3 separate regions of the Homo sapiens genome follow, and all the other regions are linked to region 1. The links are contacts of gene promoters, found by promoter capture Hi-C in blood cells and fetal thymus (Javierre and others, 2016). All regions are on one chromosome and are shown on one strand. Each heading gives the region's core, a stretch centred on a gene start or on the middle of the fragment in contact. The rest is flanking DNA. Distances are from core to core; before and after follow the strand shown. Region 1 holds the start of LDLRAD3 (low density lipoprotein receptor class A domain containing 3). Region 2 overlaps LDLRAD3 (low density lipoprotein receptor class A domain containing 3). Region 3 overlaps TRIM44 (tripartite motif containing 44).

Region 1 (3,847 bases), core at 797-3,296:
GCTGGGCATGGTGGCGGGTGCTTGTAGTCCCAGCTACTTGGGAGGCTGAGGCAGGAGAATCCCTGGAACTCGGGAGGCGGAGGTTGCAGTGAGCCAAAATGTGCCACTGCACCCAGCCTGGGCAACAGAGTGAGACTCTGTTTCATAAATAAATAAATAGATAAATAAATAAATAAATACAACAGTTGACCTTAAATAAGGTTTTACATTAGTCCAAATGATTTCAAAGACATTAATATATTTATATTTAAAAGTGTGTGTGCCTGTGTGTATGTGAGAGAGAGAGAACGAGAGAGAGAGTCAGAGTCAAACTTGCAAAGTAAGGAAGTTGATGTGTCCAAAGAAACCTAAGGAAATAAGAACTATAGCAGTGGGTCAGTTGCATTATCTTTCCGTATCCCTAATGTTTGGAGGCAAATGAGCAGCTGTAGGAGAAATTATTTGCTTATTTGCCTCCTCAGATATTATTATCAAAGGCAGGAGGCCTCTTCCCAACAAGCTTCCCGGAACAATGCACATACCCACATGCACAGGACATTTTGCATAAAATTTTAAGGGCTTTAAAATTCTTTGAAGCCCATGGGACGATCTCCATAATATTCATCAATCCCAGGATAAAAGCCCCGAATGCCAAATCATTTAGATAATTGATTTATATTTTCCATGTGTACTATGAACTATGGAACTTAACCTTTCCTCCCTCACATCACATTTTCTCATTACCTTGAACAATCATTGGTATTTTTAAATTTTGACCTGATCCTTTTTAGCCTTTATGTTTCCAGACTACAGCACGCAATTACAGAGTAAAGTAATTGAATCTTAACACCCTTGAGGGTGTCTCCAGGGCATCCCAAAATCTGACGCAGGCATCCCTTTTATAACTGCCCCTGTACCCATACCTTCCCCTTTCTTTCAGCCAGGTGGAGTTTGTGTAAATAAACTCAACCCTTTTGAGGGGTGGATTTTAGGGATGCAGTTCTATTGTTTTGACAAATGTATACAGTTGTGTAACTACCTCTATAATCAAGATTAGAACAGTCCCACTGCCCCCAAAAGTTTTAATTTATTGATCCATTTATCAATTGATGGACACTTGAGTTGTTTCCAGTTTTTGGCAATTATTTGCGTTAGTCTTTTGCTTTTTTTGGGTGGGGGATCAGAGAGAGTGGAGCACAGAAGTGTCATCCCCTTCTTCCACCATCTAAGTCTTTTGGGGCTTTTCACCAGTGCCCTCTGGAAGCAAGTGCATTGGTGCAGCTATATTTTTTGCATTTGGGTATCTGCCTTTCATGACCTTTTCCTTTTTTTAATTTTATTTTTTCCAAATTGGGTCCCAAACGTTCAACAGGTCAAGGTGGACACTATGCAGACAAAATAACTCATGTGGTCCACGCTGTGTGCATGGTAGGTGTCAGCTGCTCTTACCGGTGGCTCCCGGATCATCAGCCTTGGAATCAGCCACCATGTTGTTAAAAATGCAGAATCTCAGGCTCCACGCCAGATCTACTGAACCAGAGTCAGTATTTTAACAAGATCGTCAAGTGTGCCGGATGCATATTAAAGTTTGAGAAGCACTGGTATTCCACACTCGCTACTAAAAATATACTACAATTTTCTCATAAGATTTGACCCTTTATTTTAACTTTTTCTCTCTCGGTAGTAAACTCACTTTGTAGTTTGAGTAAAGAACTCAAGTTTTGGTCTGGGCGCTGCATCTCGCTGGGTGTGGAAGCAAAGGCAGAAATGAGAGGGACAAAAGGAAGCAGAGAACAGAGCCCAGGCTGTTAGAAGATCCTCGCGGCCAGACCTGGGAGGCTGAAAGGCTGAGAGACCGAAAGGCTGAACCCTCCGCCGCGCTCGGCGGCCCCTCGGAGTCAGGACACCCAGGGTAACATGCGGGTGGCCACGCGCAGCCCAGGCGCTTGCAAAACTTAGCGGAGCCGGGCCGGGGCCGGGCCCGGGGAAGGCGGGAGGGAGGAGGGCCAGGCGGGAGGGCGGGGACGGCGCGGCGAGGGGCGGGGTCAGCGCCGAGGCCGCGGGGGCAGCAACGACGCCGGGCAGCGGGAGCGGCGGCCGCGCCATGTGGCTGCTGGGGCCGCTGTGCCTGCTGCTGAGCAGCGCCGCGGGTGAGTCGGGGGGCGGCCGGCGAACTTCCCGCGGGGCGCGGGGCGCGGGGCGCGGGGCGCAGCGGCCGGGTGCGATCGCGTCCTCTCCCGGGCGCGGGCCGCTCTCCGGGCGTGGGTGAGCGCGGAGGGCGGACCCCGGCGCCGGGCTGGCCCGGACCCTGCCGAGGGGCCGCCGCGGGGTGCGAGCCGTCCTATTGTGTGGGCGTGCGCGCCGGGTCGTGTTGTGCTGTGTGCGCGGGCGGGGCTCTGTGTGCAGTCCGGGTCTGGGGAGCCCGGCGGCTGCCCCGATTGGGCGTAGCTCGAGTGTGGCTGTGTGTGTGTTGTGTGTGTTGAGGAACGGAGGCGGGGAAAGGAAAGGAGAGGAGAGGAGAGAACTCTTCCCTGGTCTCATCTTCCCAGACGCCTGGTCGCGCGCGGCTGCGTTAGCCTCCTCTGGGCCTCTTCCCGAGTCTCTGGCGTGCACTCCGTGCCTCAGTTTCCCCACCTGCACCGCGGAGGGAGTAGCAAAGCTGCTTCCTTTCATTCCTCTCTGGGACTGTTTGGTTTGGGTAAAGTGAGTTGAAGCAAGGCCGGATCTGGGAATTCATTTTTCCCCACTGATCCTGGGAACCGAAGCTTTATTTAAGACGTCTGACCACCCTACTTGCCCCGCGATGGGCGCCCTGACCGGCGAGGGGCCCTGGGAGAGGACACGGGGCTTCATCCGGCGGCCCTTTGAACCTGGCATCACCACCGCGTGTGCATCCCGGGGCCTGGACCGCAGCAAGCCTCTTTCCCTTCCAGACAGCGTGCTGTTCCCAGGAACTTTTCTGCTGATGTGGGCATGATCCGAATTCCAGCCTGGGAGCCCTTCCTCCTCTGCCCCTGCCCGCCGCCCACAGCTGTCAGCTGTCCCTCCTGGACTGGGCCCGCCCTTGGCCCCTTGACGTTTATTTCTGGGCATCTGATGCCTAGAATGTGGGTGACAGGGCCCAGTGAACTTTCTTCAGCAGAATCTTGCCTGCCTGGTGTTTGTGCCATCCACATGTCCAATAGCTGCCCTATTTTGCCAAGTGCTTCTAGCAGCTTGGCTGTCGAGGTGTCTTTGGTGGCCTGTGGGTTTGCTAAGTTGAGGCTCACTTCATTCTTAGCTGTGCCTTGGAGTTATGAATGCGTTAAAGGGATATCTCCTCTCTTCCTTGATGTCCCTGGTCCTGGGCATCCTCACAGCCCACTGGGCAGCCTTTCCTGCTCTCAGACCCATGACATCATCTCCACTCCTCTGATACCCCATTTAGATGCTTATGGGTTTGCTGGGCTTCCAGGGAGGGACTAGACCTCCTGGTGACTGCTGTGGATTTTTAACCAGGTCTGGGTGAGAGTGCCCTTAAATTAGTCCACCTGGGGAGAGAGTTCTCACAGGACATTGGGCAGCCAGGAGCAGGTGTGAATTGTTTGGAGGCTGTTAGAGCAGGTCGATTTTCAGGGCGTCTACAGATATGAAGACCTGTTTGGATTCACAAATTCAATCTGTGTAGCTGTGGTGTGTCCCCTCATAGCACCTGAGAAGGACAGTATGGAAGCTGGCTCTTGTGTGTGTCCTGGGAGAGCCACTGTAGCCAAATGGAAACTTATTTATTGCATCTCCCAGTTGGTACTGGGTTGCTTTAGTTGAGTCTCCATCTCTGTAAAAATAGTTGTAAAGTTAATTTTGTCCCTCTCTGGTCAGCAGTGGCTAT
Region 2 (3,847 bases), core at 766-3,265, 220 kb after region 1:
ATAGACTTGTTGAGTGTGAAGCTAGAACCCAGACAGAATGTTAATGCAGGGAAATGACATGTGAATCAGTGGTGCCCTGGGCTTTGAGTGCACATGACTGAGGGGAGGCCCAGTCAGCTGTGGCTGTGCTCCTCACATTAGCTTTGATTTGCTAGACATTGCATGAAGAATGAAGCAGAGCCTTAGCCGTGAGCTTCTCAGACTGGAGCTAAGCCGTGGTCCCTAAGTCTATAGCTTCCCACTGGAGACTGACTTAATTAGCCAGGATCCTGAGCTTGGCTAATGGTGGGCCCAGTGAATGCTTGATTTGCAATGGAAATGCCCAATTTGGTATGGAGTCTCCATTTTTAAAATGCATTGGCTAACTTTGCAGCTTCCCCCATCCCCTTCTCATGACAGTCTCCCTTTCTGGAATATTTCAAATGCAAAGGGGGAAACAGGGTTGTCGTTATATCTGGATCCTATCCACAAGGGCTCAGCAGCTGTGATGTTCAGCAGGCCAAATACAGACCCAAGAGACCAAACAGCTTCTTCCTTCCCCAAGCAGTTAAAACAAAGATCTGCTCACTGCCTTGCCTGTGTGTCTTCATGGGTGTTTGATATCAGGGTAAACTCTAGGGGCTAAAAGTGGGAGCAGAAAAAGCAATGCAAACGCATTAGGCGAGAAGCCAGGGCGGATCAGCAAAAGGTCTGGAATTATGGAAGGCTGAAGATAAGCAGTTTTGGTTGATTTCCAACACAGGCAGTTGCCTGCTTTAATGTCTGGATAAGAACTTGCCTGTAATTGGTAGATGGATTGCTTGGCTATAAATGGAGCCTGAAAAGAGTCTATTCCCTTCCAGCAATTAAACATCCCCCTGACTGCTGCCACTTTCTCCACTCTGATTATTCAGCAGACCCATTCTTCTTAATACACAGCACCGAGGTGTGGCTTAGCCCAGCCTGGTTTGAATTAGCTTATGGGATCCACATTAATGAAGCCTAGCCTTACTTCCCTGCATATGATGTGTGACTGGGTATAGTCAAGTGCCCAGTGTAGGTAAATAGATTTCGGAGAATGGTGATGTAAGATACCTACCAACCATATGTGGAAATCCTTTTCAGGATGGTTTCCCTCTGCAAGACTGTAAAGGTAGGAAATGCACTGCCTTTCCCACCCCTTCACTCCTGCACCCATTTGATAACCCACTTGAGTGTTTAGAACAGTCTTCCAAAGAGGGATGTGTGCAAGGTGATTGTTTAGGGAAGGAAGGGAGGGAGGGAGGGAGGGAAAAGGGAGAGAGAAAGGGAAAAGGGGAGGGGAAGAAGGGCAGGAAGAAAGAAAAGCTTTAGATTTGATATATAGATTGACGGGATCATGTATATAATGGAAATATACATATATTGGGGGAATAGTGTCTCAAATGGTGGAAGTTCACTGGTTTAGAGCACTGAATGAGCCACCTCAATTTTGCTCCCGTTTTCATCTTTGTCCCTAGTGCTGAGTGGCTTCAGTTTTCACTGCTTTGATCTATGTCCTGCCTGACTGGATTAAGAAAATAGAGACCTAGAGCTTCCAGTGGGAAGAGAGGAAATCGGTGACAGAACTGAATTAAGACATCTTTCTAGAAGGAGCCATTTTCCAGCCTCTTACCACTGCCCTGGGTGATCCTCTAGGTCACACAGGAGCTGATATCATGGTTGAGCCCTGGGAATCTCAGCCACGCTCTGTCCCTGTGCATCTCATACAAGCTTCCATGGTGATGAAAATTGTTAAGATGTCTTATGTGAAGCACATGGGCGTTGGGTTTGCTCATCACAAGCTGCCTGCTGCTGATGCTGTTTCACCTATTTAAAATACCCAAGTGTTGCTTTATTTAAAATTGAACAAGAGTCAGCCACTTAGAACATTTATCAATAAACTCATCACTCAAATGGAATTGTGCCCCTGCCCCTGCACTTGCATATGGTCTTAGATTGCTGCTCATTTCCAGGCACAGATGGCTTGCTTCAAAATTTTTTGCTTGAACAGGGTAAAAAAGCGAGAGTTGGTAGCTTTTAAGTGTACAAACTTGCCAAGAAAGGAAAATGCTGTGAGTGGGGATGATTGCTGGCAAGCAGCAGGGTCCGATATAATCCATGTCTGTCCATCCGTGTGTCTGTTCTTCAGCCCTGTGTGGCAGATCCCCTTCCAGTGAGTGAGCTTTAGCAAATGGAGTGTCTATGACAGCTATTTGAATCATCCTAGAATCTACTGGCTTAAAGCTGACAGCTCTGACTCTTCCTTTAACTTCTTAAGTGCAGTGTTTTGGACAGAGATAGAAGCTTTGCGAGCAGGCAGCCCGCCAGATTCTTCTATGTCCCAGATCTGGATGTTAGATTAGAAAATTTGATATTTACAAATGTGCTTCACCTTGAATTAGCCATGACCCAGTTGCTATTGTTTGTTGAAAGAGATATCTTTTAGAATTTTACTTATACAACTGACTTGCTTTTCAAAAGCACAATAAAATCTTATGTTCCCATTATAAAAGTACATATACTCATTACAGGATGTTTGGAAAATATAGAACAGGGAAAATTTTACCCACATTTCCTGCTTCCATAAATAATCACTATTAGCAGTTGGCGTATTTCCTCCCATATCCTTTTCCATGCCTAGGCAATGGAGGCTTTTTGTTCTTGCAACCGTGATACTTTTTATTCAGTTTTACATCCTACTTTTTTTCCCACTTATATTAATAAATATTTTCCCATGTTGTTATAAACTCTTAGTAAGCATTCTTAATGGTTGTATGATATTCTATTAAATGGGTGCATCTTATTTTACTTAGCCACACATCTATTGATGAACATTTAGATTTTGTCAATACATTGTTGTAGACGAAGTTGTGATGGCTTTAAACCTTTTTTTTTTTGCTTTCGTCTTTTGAATTACTTCCTTAGGATAGATTACCGTAAGATTTATATGAGGTATGAACACCTTTAGGGCCCATTACACTTATATTACTAACTTGTTATCCAAATGGATATCTGTTTACACCCCCACAAGCAATTTGATAGAACCTTTTTTTCATCACGTAATTGCCAACATAGGATATTATCATTTTAAAAAATCATTCTTGCACTGCTAGGCAAGAAATGGTATCTAATTGCAGCTCCCTTCTAAGTGTTGATTGAGCCTTTATTTAGGAAGGTCCTGCTGTGTTTTGCATAGTTCATTGGAAATTCTAGGAAAGTGCTCTTGAAAAAGGAAATTATTTATTTTCATTCTACTTTTTCAAACTTCTCACCTCCCCCTCCCACCCCCCAGTTTTAAGTCATCTTACATGAAGAAATATAAGACCAAATTACAGAAGCAGGGAATTAATGATCCAAAGATTCTAGTTAACAAGATGATCACCCAGGTTTCAAAAAATAAGTGATCTCATTTTTATGGCTTAAATATTTTAGTAACCGTTGAGTGCCTACTGTTTATATTTCTTTTCTAGGCTGACTGGCTTGCTTCCTCCCTCCCTCCCTCCCTCCCTCCCTCCCTCCCTTCCTTCCTTCCTTCCTTCCTTCCTCTATTCCATCCTCTCCTCTCCTCCCTCCTCTCCCATCCTAGACAGCTTAGGTGAAGGGCTGACAGAGGGAAATTGACTGGCTAATCTATGTGCAGTAGCCCCTGGTTCCTGCTCTTTCCGCTGAACATGATTTATAGTTGTTTGGCAGAAGGTCAAAATCTGATTCCATAGAGTGGGAATGCAGGGGGAAATATTTGATTTCTTTGACACAGTTCATTAAAAATTCATACATATGGATCTGGAAATGAAACATTGCTCCATGTCAACATGAGTTACAGTGGGAGCCTAGAGCAAGACATGAG
Region 3 (3,847 bases), core at 719-3,218, 210 kb before region 1:
TTTTGCAGAATTTACTTACATCATTTTATAAAACTCTTTATAAAGCTAAGTATTAAAAATTGGTGTGTCTTTATTTATATGTCATGAGCATTTTTGTCTTTTGTCCAGTTTGGTAAGGAGAATACTGAGTTGCAATGAGCTAATATTGGAAAAAGTATGTTCAGATGGGTAAACCATTAAAAATGATACATGCATATGATAACCATTTATTTTAAACTTGAAACATATTTGTACTTTTTTTTTTATTCTGAGGCAAGGACTTTGAAAATATGGGTTTGCTAATTAGAGTTAAATGTCATGTTTCTGGCTAAACCATACCCATTTTGCGCCATTTATAAGGTCCAATTTCAGACTGTCTATAGTGAGGGTGATACCATTCAAAGCAAGCTGAATGCAGAATCTTAGTTCTTATAACTTACTGTTTCTAGTATTTTGCTTGTGTTTCACCTACACCAAAATTGACAACAATTTTTAAGTAATTCATCTTTATTAAATTCTGTGGATGCATTCAACTTAGTTCTTATGTGAGCAAGTTATCTCTCTTGCATTCACTTTTTGTTATTTAATTAAATGTGTCATCATTACAAGTTCATATAAACAGCCTTGTTTGATTCTTGGTGAACAACATTTCCACTGGTGGAGGTAGAAATGGGAGGTTGCACAAGAGTGCAGTCTGCCATCAGATATCACAAAGAGCATTTGTGATAATTAGGGATTTGGGAGCAGTGCTTAATCTAACAAGTCATTTAAATGGAAGTTGGTATTTAATAGACTCTCACTTCTGATATTCTCTGAAACCAGAATTTGCTTATAATAGGAGTAGAAATTAATCTTAAAGCTTACCTATATCTTGAATAATTATTTACTATGAGCCTTGTGCTGTGTTAGGTGCGGTGAATACAGAAATGAGCAAAACACAAGTTCTATTCTCAAGGAGTTGAAATCCAAAGAGGGAGGCACTGTTTGATGTTGTCATTGTCAGTTTTCTTCTCTAAGTACTAGTGTAGAGTGGCAAACCCTACAAATGTGGGAGAAAGGAGGAGGATTAACTTATTCAAGATGTTAGTGAAGAAGTTTCGAGTAAGGCTTGATCTTAAAGGATAGATAGGAATTAGCTAGGTTTTTAGAATAGGGATGTGCATTTCAGGTAGCAGGAACATCACATGCATATCTTTTACTAGCAAGGTTAGCAATCCTCTCCGTGCCAACCTATTCAAAACGGCTTTATAATTCATATGTGTGTGTATATTCTTGCTTTGTAACAGTGACCATTGTTTCTGAAAAGAAGCATACATCTATAAGCAGTAGAATTGGATGAACATATAGCAAAACTTTGTGTCCCATCTTTTCTGTCCTTCCCCGCTCTCCCCTAGAAATGTTATTAATTAACAATTCAAGGAAAGTAAAATAATGGCTACTATTTGTTGAACGATTACAAGGTACTAGACACTTGCTTAGTGTTTTACACAGATTTTCTCATTTATTTTAATCCATATGGTGACCCTTTGAGGTAAGAACTAGGATCTTTATGTGCAGATGGAGAAACTGAACCTTGGAGAAGAAAATTGCCAAAAGCTTCACTTTTGGGATTAATGAACCAGAATTTGAGACCATGTTTTTATATTATAACTGAGAAACCCTGTCTCTTAATCATTACACCAAGGTATGTGATTTTGAGGAGGACTTGCTCTAAATTATGGGAGAAAGTTTAGATATTTTTTCCATAAAGTTATCTTAGACAATTAGGCTTAAACATCCAAAAATAATTGAAAAATTTGTGTTGAGATATAATTATGTCATTCATAGTTATGTAACTCATGTTAAATTTAAATTATATAACTTTTTATTGGTATATTATAGATCCCATGAGACATATCAGATGATAAAAATGCGAAGAAATTTTCCACCATCCCTATACCCTCCCTCTACCACTCGCCCTACTTCCCTCTAGTTGGAGTGTGGATGATTAACGCCCTTCCCACTATTGCAGATCTTTAACAGTCTGCCAAAAATGCCCTTCTTATTCGACCTCAAATGGCTAGTTTGATTTAAATCACCTTTCTGGCTGCAGCTGTACTTTACAGGCTTGCACCCTGGCAGTCTCCCTTTACCTCAGTCACGCTCAACCCCACATTGCCCTCAGTTCCAACCTTATACCACCCCCAGCGCCCTGCCCAAAACACACATGTGCACATCCCCATTCTGTAGTTTCACAGAACTCAAGGTCCCTTGAACAACACATTTTTAGAAATTTGCCTTTGCTCTTGCTAGTTCAGTGTTCTTCCCACTTTTCTCTGTTGTCAGCCTGGGAAAATACTATTTATCCCTCAAAGTGGCAATATCAATGTTACCTTCTGTGTGTGAAGCTTTTCCCACCTTCTCCAGGAGAGGCAGTGTTCATAACTTCCCTGTTGATTCTCATATTATTCTGTTTATGTCTTTGATATTGATCATAACACATTTAGTAATAGTTCATTTTCTTTCTGCCTGTTTCTCATGCTCCTGATTCGAAAATCCTAGAAGGTTAGATCATTATGAGTGATTGTTTTTCCTTAGTTAGCATATATATATATAGTAGCTTCTTAATGAATCCTACTGAATTGTTACTGATACTGATATATAGCCTTTATTAAATACATCCTGTGTCACAGGCACTGTGTTTGATGATTATAAGCATTATTTCATTTAATCCTCATACTCATCCTATGATACAGAGACAATTATTACCCCATTTTACAAATTAGGAAATTGAAGTTAAGAAAGGCAAAATAACATGAGTAAGCTATTAGAGCAGTAGAGTGATAGGGTTAAGACTTGAACCCAGAACATCGGACTTGAGAGCTCATTCTGCCTTATACCAGTAGGAACCATTCATTCATTCATTCATTCTCCGAGGAGTACAACCAGAATGTACATTCTCTATTGAGACTACCCTTCAATGGCTAAAAAGAAGGATATAAAAGATACGCTGACACCAAAAGGATGAATGAGGTCCCTTGGGAAAGGCTTGAGAGTTATTTGAAAAATCTAATTTGATCACAGAAGGAAGCTCAAAGGAATCTGCTGTGATCACTTCTGATAAAGTTAGGTTGAGAGAATGCCATACCTGGAAAAATAATGTTAACACATTGTTTTTGAAAAGTGGGCAAGAAAAAGAGAAGAGCCATTGTTTGATGGAAGAATGATGTGGATCATCAAATGCCAGAACTAACCACTTACGGAGGAGAAGACCAAAGTCCAGATTAATTAATGTTTGCCCAAGGACACATAACTAATAAGTAACAGAGCTTGGACTAGAATCCCAATTTCTTGAGTCCCAGTTCAGTGCCCTTTATACCACAGTGTTCTTTATATTAGAATTGCAGTGTTCATGTTTGATGAAAAATGCTAGAACAAGGCAGAAATGAGTCTTTGAAGGAAACAGTTTGATGTTTTTGGAACTGGCTAGCTTTTGTCTAAGACGTGCCTCTATTTTGGGTTTCTCACTTTGCTAAGAACTAAATACTGCCAGCCATACAAATAAAAAGGCAAGGCAATTATTTAGGCCTCCTAGGTCTGTGCATTCACTTCTCTGCTCTGCTTGTCAGGGCAAATTATCAGGTCATCTCCACTGGGCAGTTTGAACATAGGATTATATTAGCTCTTGTCTTAGCCTTTAGATGTCTGTTGGTTTGTCTCTGTTACAATAAATGTATAGTCCATGCATTCAGGTTGGGAGAGGGGAGGGAAAAGAAAGAAATCTGACTCTGTCTGTACCAACAGTGATTTCTAATACTGTTTCTTTCTGTTTGTCTTTCAGGGCGATGAGGAAGGACCCAGGTAAGATCACATTGTTGCTTGTCTTTTC

What was found. Contacts are between HindIII fragments. The CHiCAGO score rates a contact against its expected background, and 5 or more counts as called.
Region 2: a contact is called between a fragment that was not itself captured here and the fragment with the promoter of LDLRAD3 in region 1, in 2 of 17 cell types (endothelial precursors and erythroblasts). The highest score is 8.8, in endothelial precursors.
Region 3: a fragment that was not itself captured here is called in contact with the fragment with the promoter of LDLRAD3 in region 1 in 1 of 17 cell types (endothelial precursors); the score reaches 5.6 in endothelial precursors.

The regions. Positions count from the first base shown.
Region 1 is chr11:35,942,016-35,945,862 of GRCh38, forward strand. LDLRAD3 (low density lipoprotein receptor class A domain containing 3) reads left to right here and starts at 2,047. Exons shown (of 6, transcript NM_174902.4): 1 at 2,047-2,129. The coding sequence starts at 2,084. RefSeq lists a silencer at 1,958-2,397. The HindIII fragment of the contact is 2,245 bases long and covers 498-2,742 here.
Region 2 is chr11:36,162,459-36,166,305 of GRCh38, forward strand. The region is part of intron 4 of LDLRAD3 (low density lipoprotein receptor class A domain containing 3); the gene reads left to right. Among named protein-coding and RNA genes, the nearest start is that of COMMD9, 130 kb to the right of the region's middle. The HindIII fragment of the contact is 573 bases long and covers 1,730-2,302 here.
Region 3 is chr11:35,731,627-35,735,473 of GRCh38, forward strand. It overlaps TRIM44 (tripartite motif containing 44), which reads left to right. Exons shown (of 5, transcript NM_017583.6): 4 at 3,800-3,819. Among named protein-coding and RNA genes, the nearest start is that of TRIM44, 71 kb to the left of the region's middle. The HindIII fragment of the contact is 791 bases long and covers 1,574-2,364 here.